Linked DNA regions of Homo sapiens: region 1 is linked to region 2. The links are contacts of gene promoters, found by promoter capture Hi-C in human tissues and cell types (Jung and others, 2019). All regions are on one chromosome and are shown on one strand. Each heading gives the region's core, a stretch centred on a gene start or on the middle of the fragment in contact. The rest is flanking DNA. Distances are from core to core; before and after follow the strand shown.

The links. Contacts are between HindIII fragments. The study calls those that stand out against the background at their distance.
Region 1: a contact is called between a fragment that was not itself captured here and the fragment with the promoter of JAM2 in region 2, in 2 of the 25 tissues and cell types used here (dorsolateral prefrontal cortex and lymphoblastoid cells).

The regions. Positions count from the first base shown.
Region 1 is chr21:25,309,685-25,314,423 of GRCh38, reverse strand. No RefSeq gene overlaps it. Among named protein-coding and RNA genes, the nearest start is that of LINC00158, 120 kb to the left of the region's middle. The HindIII fragment of the contact is 4,077 bases long and covers 1,098-4,739 here.
Region 2 is chr21:25,635,595-25,640,811 of GRCh38, reverse strand. JAM2 (junctional adhesion molecule 2) reads right to left here and starts at 1,554. Exons shown (of 10, transcript NM_021219.4): 1 at 924-1,554. The coding sequence starts at 990. RefSeq lists enhancers at 572-641, 544-1,044, 1,782-1,921 and a silencer at 1,372-1,561. The HindIII fragment of the contact is 5,846 bases long and covers 553-5,217 here.

The DNA of each region.
Region 1 (4,739 bases), core at 1,887-4,386, 330 kb after region 2:
CTCCAGTCTGGGTCATTGATAATGTCACCATGTATTTTCGCTTTTATTTTCTTTCTTTGTGGTGATGATTTCTTTCTTTTTAATTAAAAGTTCAACCATTTCAGTTATAATACAAGTAGTAATTTCAAACTCTTTGCACTCTTTTAAAGTTTATGGATATGCATTTTTGATGAATCACTTTTTTTTTCTATGAGGAGCTACAGATACTAATGTGTGATAGTATTACTGAGATAGCGAGTCACATAGGAAAAATATTTCCTGAAAAGGAAGTATCGTAATAGGAAAATACCCATGTGGGAAGAAATCAGAAACCAATGTAAATGTAAAACATTTTTTGAGGATCAGCAGGGGGCACTAAGATTCCACAGGAAAAACATCCCTGTACCCTTCATAAACGATTTTTCTTTTGCTTTAACTCCAAATTGATAACACCATAAACTCTATGCTTTTTTATCTTTATTATAGCTGATAGTGTATCTTTTCTTTTTAACCCTCAAAATGTAGGTGCACTTAACACATCTTTTTATCTACCAATTTAAAAAACTTCTGATTCCCTTATCTGCATTCTGGTTTGCTTCTCATTCAGCATTCACATCCAATGCTATTTTCCTCCCTTTGACAAACATAGAGTAATTAGAATTTTTCACAGACAAGTGATTACCTAATAAATGACCTTCTGCAGGCAGCTCTATTAAAATGGAGCAAAAACGATGTTTACTACAAGCGGTGGCCAAGAAGTAAGGTGCAGGGACAAGACAAGCTCTGCATAACCAAAAGCTTCTTCAGCTCTAAGAATAATGAAAGCATTTACTGAACTAGCAGATCTGTACTAAAAATAATTATAAGCCAGACAGAATGCTAAACCATAAACACAAATTATGATTGGCTATTGCAACAGTTCATTAATTCCATGGAAGTCCAAGGATAAGTTAAGGTAATAATGCTGATGTTCACACAGGACATCAACAAGTAAGAAAAAAAATCAAAATATATAAACTAGGAGAGGATGAAAAGAATACTGATCGATTTTCATATGTCTTTGCTGATTCTAGTACATTTAAAGGGTGAGAAAAAGTATGAACTCTCAGTGGAATATCTTTGAAGATATTTTTGTGAAGATGTAATTTTTTATAAAACAAATTGCTGCAGGGATCTTGAATAGAATATTGGATATAGCCATGTATTTTTGCCTGTACTCTTATTTATATTTATAAACTACTGTTATAAAAATATAACTTAAAAATGTAGGCTTTGCTTTAGTTTATACAGACCATGGCTTTAGGCAATTTGTAGATTCCTGGTAAACAACTTTAGATCACAAAACTTTAGACCTGTGAGGGGCTTTGTCAGTAATCTCAGCCAATCCTGTGACTTCTTACAAGTGAAAACTGTAGGTATAGAAAGATCACTCAGAAAGCTTATAACCTGAGCTAGTCAACAGGTAGCTGAACAAAATTATAGGTTTCCTGACTGTAGTCCAGTCTTCGCCATGCTTTCTTTCTTTTTTTTCCTCTTACATATTTTATTTATTTTTAAAATGGACAAATAAAAATACTTTTGTACAGAATGATGTTTTGAAATATGTATACACTGTGGAATGGCTAAATTGAGCTAATAACATATGTATTACCTCACATATGTTTTTTGTTGAGAACACTTAAAATCCACTCTCTTTGTGCTTTTCAAGAATACAATACATTATTAACTATAGTCACCGTGTTGTTCAATAGATCTTGAACTTATTCTTCTTACCTAACTGACATTTTGTATCCTTTGGCCAATATGATCCCCTAACCTCTGCTTCTATGAGTTCAACTTTTTTAGATTCTACATAAGTGAGATCATGCCGTATTTGTCTTTCTGTGCCTGGCTTATTTCACTTAACATAATATCCTTTAGGTTTATCCATGTTATTGCAAATGACAGGATTTCCTTTTTTTAAAAACAACTAAAGAGTATTTCATTATGTATATATACCATATATTCTTTATCTATTTATTGGACCCTTATGTTGATTCTGTATTTGGGCTATTGTGAACAGCACTGAAATAAACATGGGAGTGCAGATATCTCTTTGGCATACTAACTTCACTTCTTTTGGATATACATTCAGTAGCGGGGTTGCTGAATCATATGGTGGTTCTATTTTTAAGTTTTTGAGGAGCTTTGTATTGTTTTCTGTAATAGCTCTATTTATTTACAGTCTCACCAACAGTGTGCAGTGATTTCTGTTTCTCCACATCTTTGTCAACACTTGTCTTTCATCTTTTTGATAATAGCCATTCTAAGTAGGTTGACGCGATATTTCACTGTGATTTTGATTTGCATTTCTCTGATGAATAGTGATGTTGAACACTTTTTCATCTATCTGTTGGCCATTTGCATGCTCTCTTTTGAAAAATGTCTATTCAGGTTCTTTGCCCATTTTAAAATCAGATTGTTTTCTCGCTATTGAGTTGTTTGAGTTCCTTATATACATTGGATGTAATTATCAGATACACAGTTTGCAGTTATTTTCTCCCATTCCATAGGTTGTCTCTTCACTCTGTTGTTTATTTCCTTAGCTGTATAAGTTTTTAGTTTGATATTTTCCCATTTGTCTATTTTCACTTTTGTTGCCTGTGCTTTTAAAAGGGGATGTATTAAAAAAATATCAGCACTCAGACCAAAGTCATGGAGCTTTTCCTCTATGGTTTCTTCTAGTAGTTTTATAGTTTCCAGTTTTAAGTCTTTAATCCATTTTGAGTAGATTTTTAAAAATATGTTGAGTTGATTTTTGCATAAGGATCTAATTTCATCCTTCTACGTATAGATAACCAGTTTTCCCAGCACCAATTACTGAAGAGAAGCTATTCTTTACTTATTGTGTGTTCTTGGTAACTTTGTCAAAAATCAGTTGACTATAAATGTAAGGACATATTTCCAGGCTCTCCATTCTGTTTTATTAACAGATGTTTCTGTTTTTATACCAGTACCCTGTTGTTTTGATAAATATGGCTTTGTAGTATATTTTGAAATCAGGCAGTGTGATGCATTAAACTTTGTTCTTTTTGCTTAAGATTGCTTTGGGTATTCTGGGTCATTTCTGGTTACATATGAATTTTAGAAGTTTTTTTGTACTTCTGTGAAAAATGTCATTGGAATTTTGATAGGAATTGTGTTAAATCTGTAGATTGTTTTGAGTAGTATGAACATTTAACAATATTAATTATTCCAATCTGTAAATATGCAATATTTTTCCATTTATTTGCATCTTCTTCAATTTCTTTCATCAACAGTTTTTAGTTTTATAGTTTATTAGTTTATAATTTAATAGTTTCATAGTTTTCCTTCAGAGGTCTTTCACCTCTTTAAATTTATTCCTGAGTATTTTATTTTTTATTTCTTCCTATCTATTGTAAATGAGTTTGTTTTCTTGTTTTTGGATAGTTCATTGTGAATATATAGAAACACTACTGATTTTTGTAAGTTGATTTTGTATCCTGCAACTTTATTGAATGCATATTTTAGTTCTCACAGTTATTTGGTGCAATCTTTAGGGCTTTCCACATATAAGATTATGGTCATTTGCGAACAGGGACAATTTAACTTCTCCCTTTCCAATTTGGATGCCCTTTATTTCTGTCACTTGTCTAATTGCTCTGGCTAGGACTTCCAGTACTATGTTGAATAGAAATGATAAGTGGGCATTCTTGCCTTGTTCCCAATCTTAAAGAAAAAACGTTTAGCTTTTCACCATTGAGTATGATGTTAGCTGTGAGTTTGCCAAATACGGCCTTTAATATTTCATTTGTGGTTATCATGAAACTTACATAAAACATAGTTATAACAGGCTATTTTAAGCTGATAATCTTAACATCTGAATGTTGATTGTATAAAATAATATTACATTTTTACTCAATCTCCCTGCATTAAATGTTTTGATTCAAAATTTACCTCTTTTTGCATTGTGTATTCCTTAACAAATTATTGTAGTTATTTTTATTTTAAATAGTTTTGTCTTTTGACCTTCACAATAAAGACATGTAATTTATACCCTACCATCACAGTATTTGAATATTCTTAATTTGACCATGTACTTATTTTTAGTAGTGATTTTTATACTTTAATATATTTTCATGTTTCTAAGTGTCCTTTCCTTTCAGCCTGAAGAAATCTCTTTAGTATTTCTTATAAGACAGGTCTGGTGGTGATGAACTCTTTGTTTTTGTTCATTTGGGAAAATGTGTGTCACTGCATTTCTCAAGAACAGCTTTGCCAGGTGCCTTACAGTTGGTGTTGGTTGGCGTTTTTCTTCCTTCAGCTATATATATATATATATATACACACATATATATATATCACTGGCCTTATTGGAACTCCTTATATGTCATTTGCTTTTTTTCTCTTACTGTATTCAGGTTCCTCTCCTTGTCTTTGATATTTGACAGTTTGATTATAATATATGTTTGTGTATTCCTGTTTGGAATTAATCTGATAGAAGACTTTTGAATTTTCTATAGTTGGATATGTATATGCTTCCCATATTTGGAAAGTTTATGCTATTATTTCTTTAAATAAGCTTTCTTCTATTTATCTCTGCTTTGTCTTCTTCACAAACTTCTATCTCTCAAATATTTCCGCTTTTGATGCTGTTTCATAAATCCAAGAAGTTTTCTTCATTCCTTTTTTCTTTTTTTGACTATATTTTAAATATACTGTCTTCTAGTTTAGAGTTTATTTCTCCTGCTTGACCAGTT
Region 2 (5,217 bases), core at 305-2,804:
AAGAAGAAAGAGAAAGGAAGGGAGGAAGGAAGGAAGGGAAAAAAGCAAAACAAAAAAGGTGAGAGAAAAAAGAAAAAGCAAAAGTAGAACTGCATTGCTTAGTCTATTGTAATTTCCTCCATTTTCCTAAAAAGTTAACGCGAAGAAAACAAAATAACGGCAACGTTCCCAGGATTTCAAATCTCATGAGTCCAGAATCCGTGAAAATCCTGTTTAAAATCATCCGGTGAAATTGGCTTTGGGACGTCTCCCCAGCTACTGGATCATGTGGCTTCTGAATCTTTCTAACAATCGTCCCGTTGGATGTCCCCTGAGGACAGAGCAGCTGGCTAGAGTCCCCAGACCAGACTTCTCTAAGTGAATGTAGATGTGCAGGTGGAGAGGATAAAAGTAATTCTGGCTCAGCAGCCACGAATTCCCTCCACCTCCGCCCCACAAGTGCGCTGCATATCGCCGGCTCAGCTGGGACGCTACAGAGCCCAGACCACGCGGACGCTGCCCCCTCCCCGGGGACTCAAAGTGTGGCCGGCGCCCGCCTCCCAGTGATGCCATCTTTCTTGGGGTCTTAGCATCTTACCAGTGGGTAGTGAGTTTTGCATTCGAATCACGTCCCTCTGTCTGAAAACTTACCCCAACTTTGCAAACAGATGAGAACCTGCTAGTGGGAACCCTTAATTTTCTGTATCTAGAACTGACAAAATCAGACGCAATTCACAAGAAACCCACGACCTCGCGCTCCCTTGCTCCCAGCGTCCGCTCGCGGGCACCCTGGGTTTCCCGCTCGCCTGGGCGCAAGGTCAGACGCCCCGCGGCGACCTCGGCCCAGAGCCGCCCAGACACTGTCAGCCAGCGCCCCGTGGGGGGCTGGAGGGTGGGGGCAGGCTGGTCCAGGCAGGAAGGGTAGAGGAACCCGAGCAACTTACAGCCCAGGGCGACCACCAGGTAGCGCAGCAGCAGCAGGAGGAGGCGGTGGCGGCTCCTCCTCGCCATCTTCCCGGGGCGGCAGCCGGCTGCTCTGAGGAGGTCGAGGGTCCCGGCGGCAGGAGCGCAGGAGGCCGGGGGCCCTTGAACTTCTGGGGCGGGAAAGGAGCAGAGAGTCGGGAGGGGAGGAAGAGGAGGGACGGCTCTAGATGGGATGTCAGTTTCCCCCTCCCCGGGGCGCCTTCTCAGCTGGCTGCCAAGAGGCGGGTCCTCCAGCCCAGGGATGGGGGTCTGTTCTGTTTTGGGGGTGTGGGGGTAGGGGCTAGAGGGCGTGAAAACCAGACGAGGCGTCCGCCGGGTCCTAGCGAGGGGGCAGCAGGAGGAGAGCAGCGCCCGGGAAAGCCCCGGCGGGTCGTCCCTCCGCCCCCACGCCTCCGGGATTGATCGGCTTTGTGTCTGGTCCGCGCGGGGCTGCCAGCTGTCCCCAGGGCGAGGAGCTGGGGGCGGGAGGCGCGGGCAGGCTGGGGGTGGGGGGATTGGGTGTCTCGGGGACGGGGATGTATGCGGGTAGGGAAACGCCTCCTGTTTTGCCCCAACTCCTTTCTTCCCCTCGTTGGCTCAAAACTTCTTTCTGGCTTTTCAGCCTAGGGGTGGAGATATTTGGAAAATTCTGCCCAACGGGCGAAGCTGAGGGGGTGGCGCTCTGAGGAGATGGGGTTCGCGGGCTCCGCCTCGAACTCGAGAAAAAAAAAAGCAATCAAGACTCGTGCTGGAAGTCAGGTCTCAGATTTTAGTACAGCCTTGGTCCCTTCTCAGTTTAAGCTTTTTGCTCCTTGGAGATTTGAGGTGCATTTGTCTCGCGTTCTTGTTCTTTGCTTTTTTTTCAGTGTCAGAGTTGGAAGTTCATCTAATGGTGTGAAATATTTATCATGTTTCTTTCAAGTTACATAACTGCTGCTTGTGGAGTTTTCCACGTGTTAAAACTCTACAGCTGCCCTTTGTCAGGTTTATTTTTGGTCTACTGTGCTTTTAAAAGGGAAACCCATTATGAATGCTCTGTTGCGTGCTTTAAAATTGCACCACACTTACATTGGACGCACGTACACTGGCAATTTTTATATTTGTTCCTAGGGACCAAAAATGTATGGTGTATTCAAGAGTATTGGCAGGTCTGGAAAAAGGCCATTCCCAGGAGAAGAAATTAGTATACATCAGTTTTTTTCTTTTGTTTTTTTGTTTGTTTTTGTTTTTGTTTTTTTTTAAAGGTTGAATAATGGATGAAGTTCTGTACAGCAGATAGTTGATTTAGTGGTGTATTTAAAAAGAATTCAGCTAGCTCAGTGGACAAAGGCGACCAGAGTTTAGCTGTGCAGAACTGTGAGGAATGAGGCATCCTTGCTGTTGCCGTGGTGACAGTGATGAAAACTTAGTACCCAGGGAGGGGGTGGGAGGAGAGGACCCAGGGGACCCAGAAAGGAAAGTCAAAATGGCAAAATGTTAAAACTCGTACTCCAGTCAACCGAGGAGAAGGGGCACAGATTTAACAACAGCTTATGCCAGTTTTTCTGGGCAGTAATGAGAAGGATTTGATGCTTAAAAAGAAAAGTTGTTGGCATCTTCTTTTTTCTAATTCTTGCTACAGCTATATGTCTTTTACTCCTCCCTAAAAATATACACAAAAATGTCATACTTAAAAAAATTCTATGCAATCCTATGTGAGTAACTGACTAAGTTATTTATTTGCCACCCAGCCAAGGCATTTGACAAATGGCAACAATGTGCTGGATGCTGAAGGACAACCATGAACAAGATAGAGGCTTTCTTGCTAACAAGCTCACAGTCTTGAGGGGAGACAGAGTCTTATCAGGAAAGATGCCTGATACCACATGGTAAATGTTACAGGAGGACAGAAAATAATAACAGCTATTTTTATTGCATGCTTTCTCAGTGATGGAGTCTGAATAACGCAATATCTAATCCCCCAACAACTCCATAAAAGAGGAAATGTTATCATTCCCACTTTGCAGATGAGAAAACTGGGCGGAGAGACACTAAATGGCTTGTCCAAGGTCCATGATAAGGGGCTGTTCCTTTTGTTGGGAGTGGGGCCAGGGCTTTCTTTATTAAACCTTGAAAAATGGGTCAAATTCTGAAGGGAAGGACATAAAGGAGAGGCATTCTACATAGAGGAAACAGCAGGATCCAGAGCTAGGAGATTGAAAAATTATGGTTTATTTAGAAAAAGCAAGGTTCTACAGTACTAAAGTGTATGTGGGATCGGGATAGTGAGGTAGGTGGTGGTGGTGGTAGAAACTGAAGGGGAGGTTAGAGTACGAAGAGCATTCACGCTACTGTCTAGACCTCATCCTACAGCTAATGAGCTTTTTGAAAGCAATGAGATAAGAAAAGACTCATATTTTAGAACTGTGGTGTCCAATATGGTAGCCTATAGATCTAAGTGGCTATATACATTTTTTTTGTTTTGTTTTTAATTTGAGACAGAGTCTCACTTTGTCACACAGGCTGGAGTACAGTGGTGCAATCTCAGCTCACTGCAACCTCCGCCTCCCAGGTTCAAGTGATTCTCCTGCCTCAGCCTCCTCAGTCCAGTAGATGGGACTACAGGCATGTGCCACCATGCAGGCTAATTTTTGTATTTTTTGTAGAGATGGGGTTTCGCCATGTTTGCCAGGCTGGTCTCGAACTTCTGACCTCAGATGATCCACACGCCTTGGCCTCCCAAAGTGCTGGAATTACAGGTGTGAGCCACCATGCCTGGCTGGCTATATAAATTTGAATTCAATTATATGTAAAATGCAGTTCTCCACTGACACTGATCACATATGAATTTCTCAATAGTCACATGAGGGTAGGGGCTACCATATTGGAAAATGTATTTCCATCATTGCAGGAAGTTCTACAAGAGAGTGCTGCTCTAGAATGATGACTCATATTGAAATGTGCAGGATGGATTACAGAAAAGAGAATCAGGGTGTTAGTCAAGTCTAAACTATTACAATATCCTGAGAAAGAGACCAAGTTGTGAAGTAAATGGTCACCGTGTGATAAATGAAAAACCGGGTGGATTCAGATGATATTTCACAAACATGGTCAACAGGATTATGTTATCAGCTAGATGTAGGGGTGAGAAAGGAGAGAACATGTAGGTATCAGATTTCTAGCATAGGTGGCTGTATGTGGAGGTTATAAATAGTGTCATTAAAGGAATAAGAAACATAGAGGGCATACATAATTCCTGCAGGTTTGGGATGAGTTGAGAGAGAGAAATATAGCTGGGGTGACCAGTAGACTGTTAGAATGAGTGCTCTAGAGAACAGGAAACCCTCAGGATTGACTAAAGAAATAAATATAAATATTAGCAGCATCTTCTAGAACAGTGATCACTGGACTATCTTCTCCCCAGAATCCTTTGGAGCTCCTTCATTATGATTCTTTCCTTAAAATTATGTTAAAATTCTGAGTTTCAGAAGTTTTAATCTCAGCAGCCCCAGGAAGCTGTATTATTAACAAGTACCTTGATTAATTCTGATGCAACGAATCTATGGATTATTGTTTGAGGAACTTTCTAGAAGGCAGGAGCAGTGAATGAGATCAATCAGACAAAGAAGTGAATGTTTATGGATAAATCTAAGGAAATAACTGCAGTAAGAGGTAGGAAGAGAAAGAACCCAGAGAAAGAACACAAGAAAGAGCAGTCAAAAAGTACAAAAGGAACTGGGAGAGAATCAGGAGCTAAAGGTGGAGGTGTTTGTACAGTCCAAGGCTAAAAAGAGGGTTGAGAATTGTCTCTTGTATTTAGTGTCTATGAGGGTATTGCCCACATGGATAATAGAGAAAGCAAGCCTCCAAAAAACATGTAGAAAAAATTTGCAGACTTGAGTTTTATACTTAGTAAAGCAACTAATGCATAAGATATATTAAAAATATTTAAAAATTTTTTTAATTATTATGGGTACATAATAGTTTTATATATTTATGGGGTACAGGTGATGATTTGATACAAGCATACAGTGTAGCAAGCAGGGTAATTGGAATATCCACGTCCTCAAGCATTTATCATTTCTTTGTGTTAGGAATATAACCACCCAATGGGTTCACCTTGCCCGATGCCCAGATAGAGCTGATTTATCAAGACAGGGCAATTGTAATGGTGAAAGAGTCATTCACGCAGAGCTGGCTGTGTGGAAGATGGAGTTTTATCATTACTCATATCAGTCTCTCTGCATTCAGGGATCAGAGTGTTTAAGGATAATTCTTGGTAGGTGAGGGAAAGAC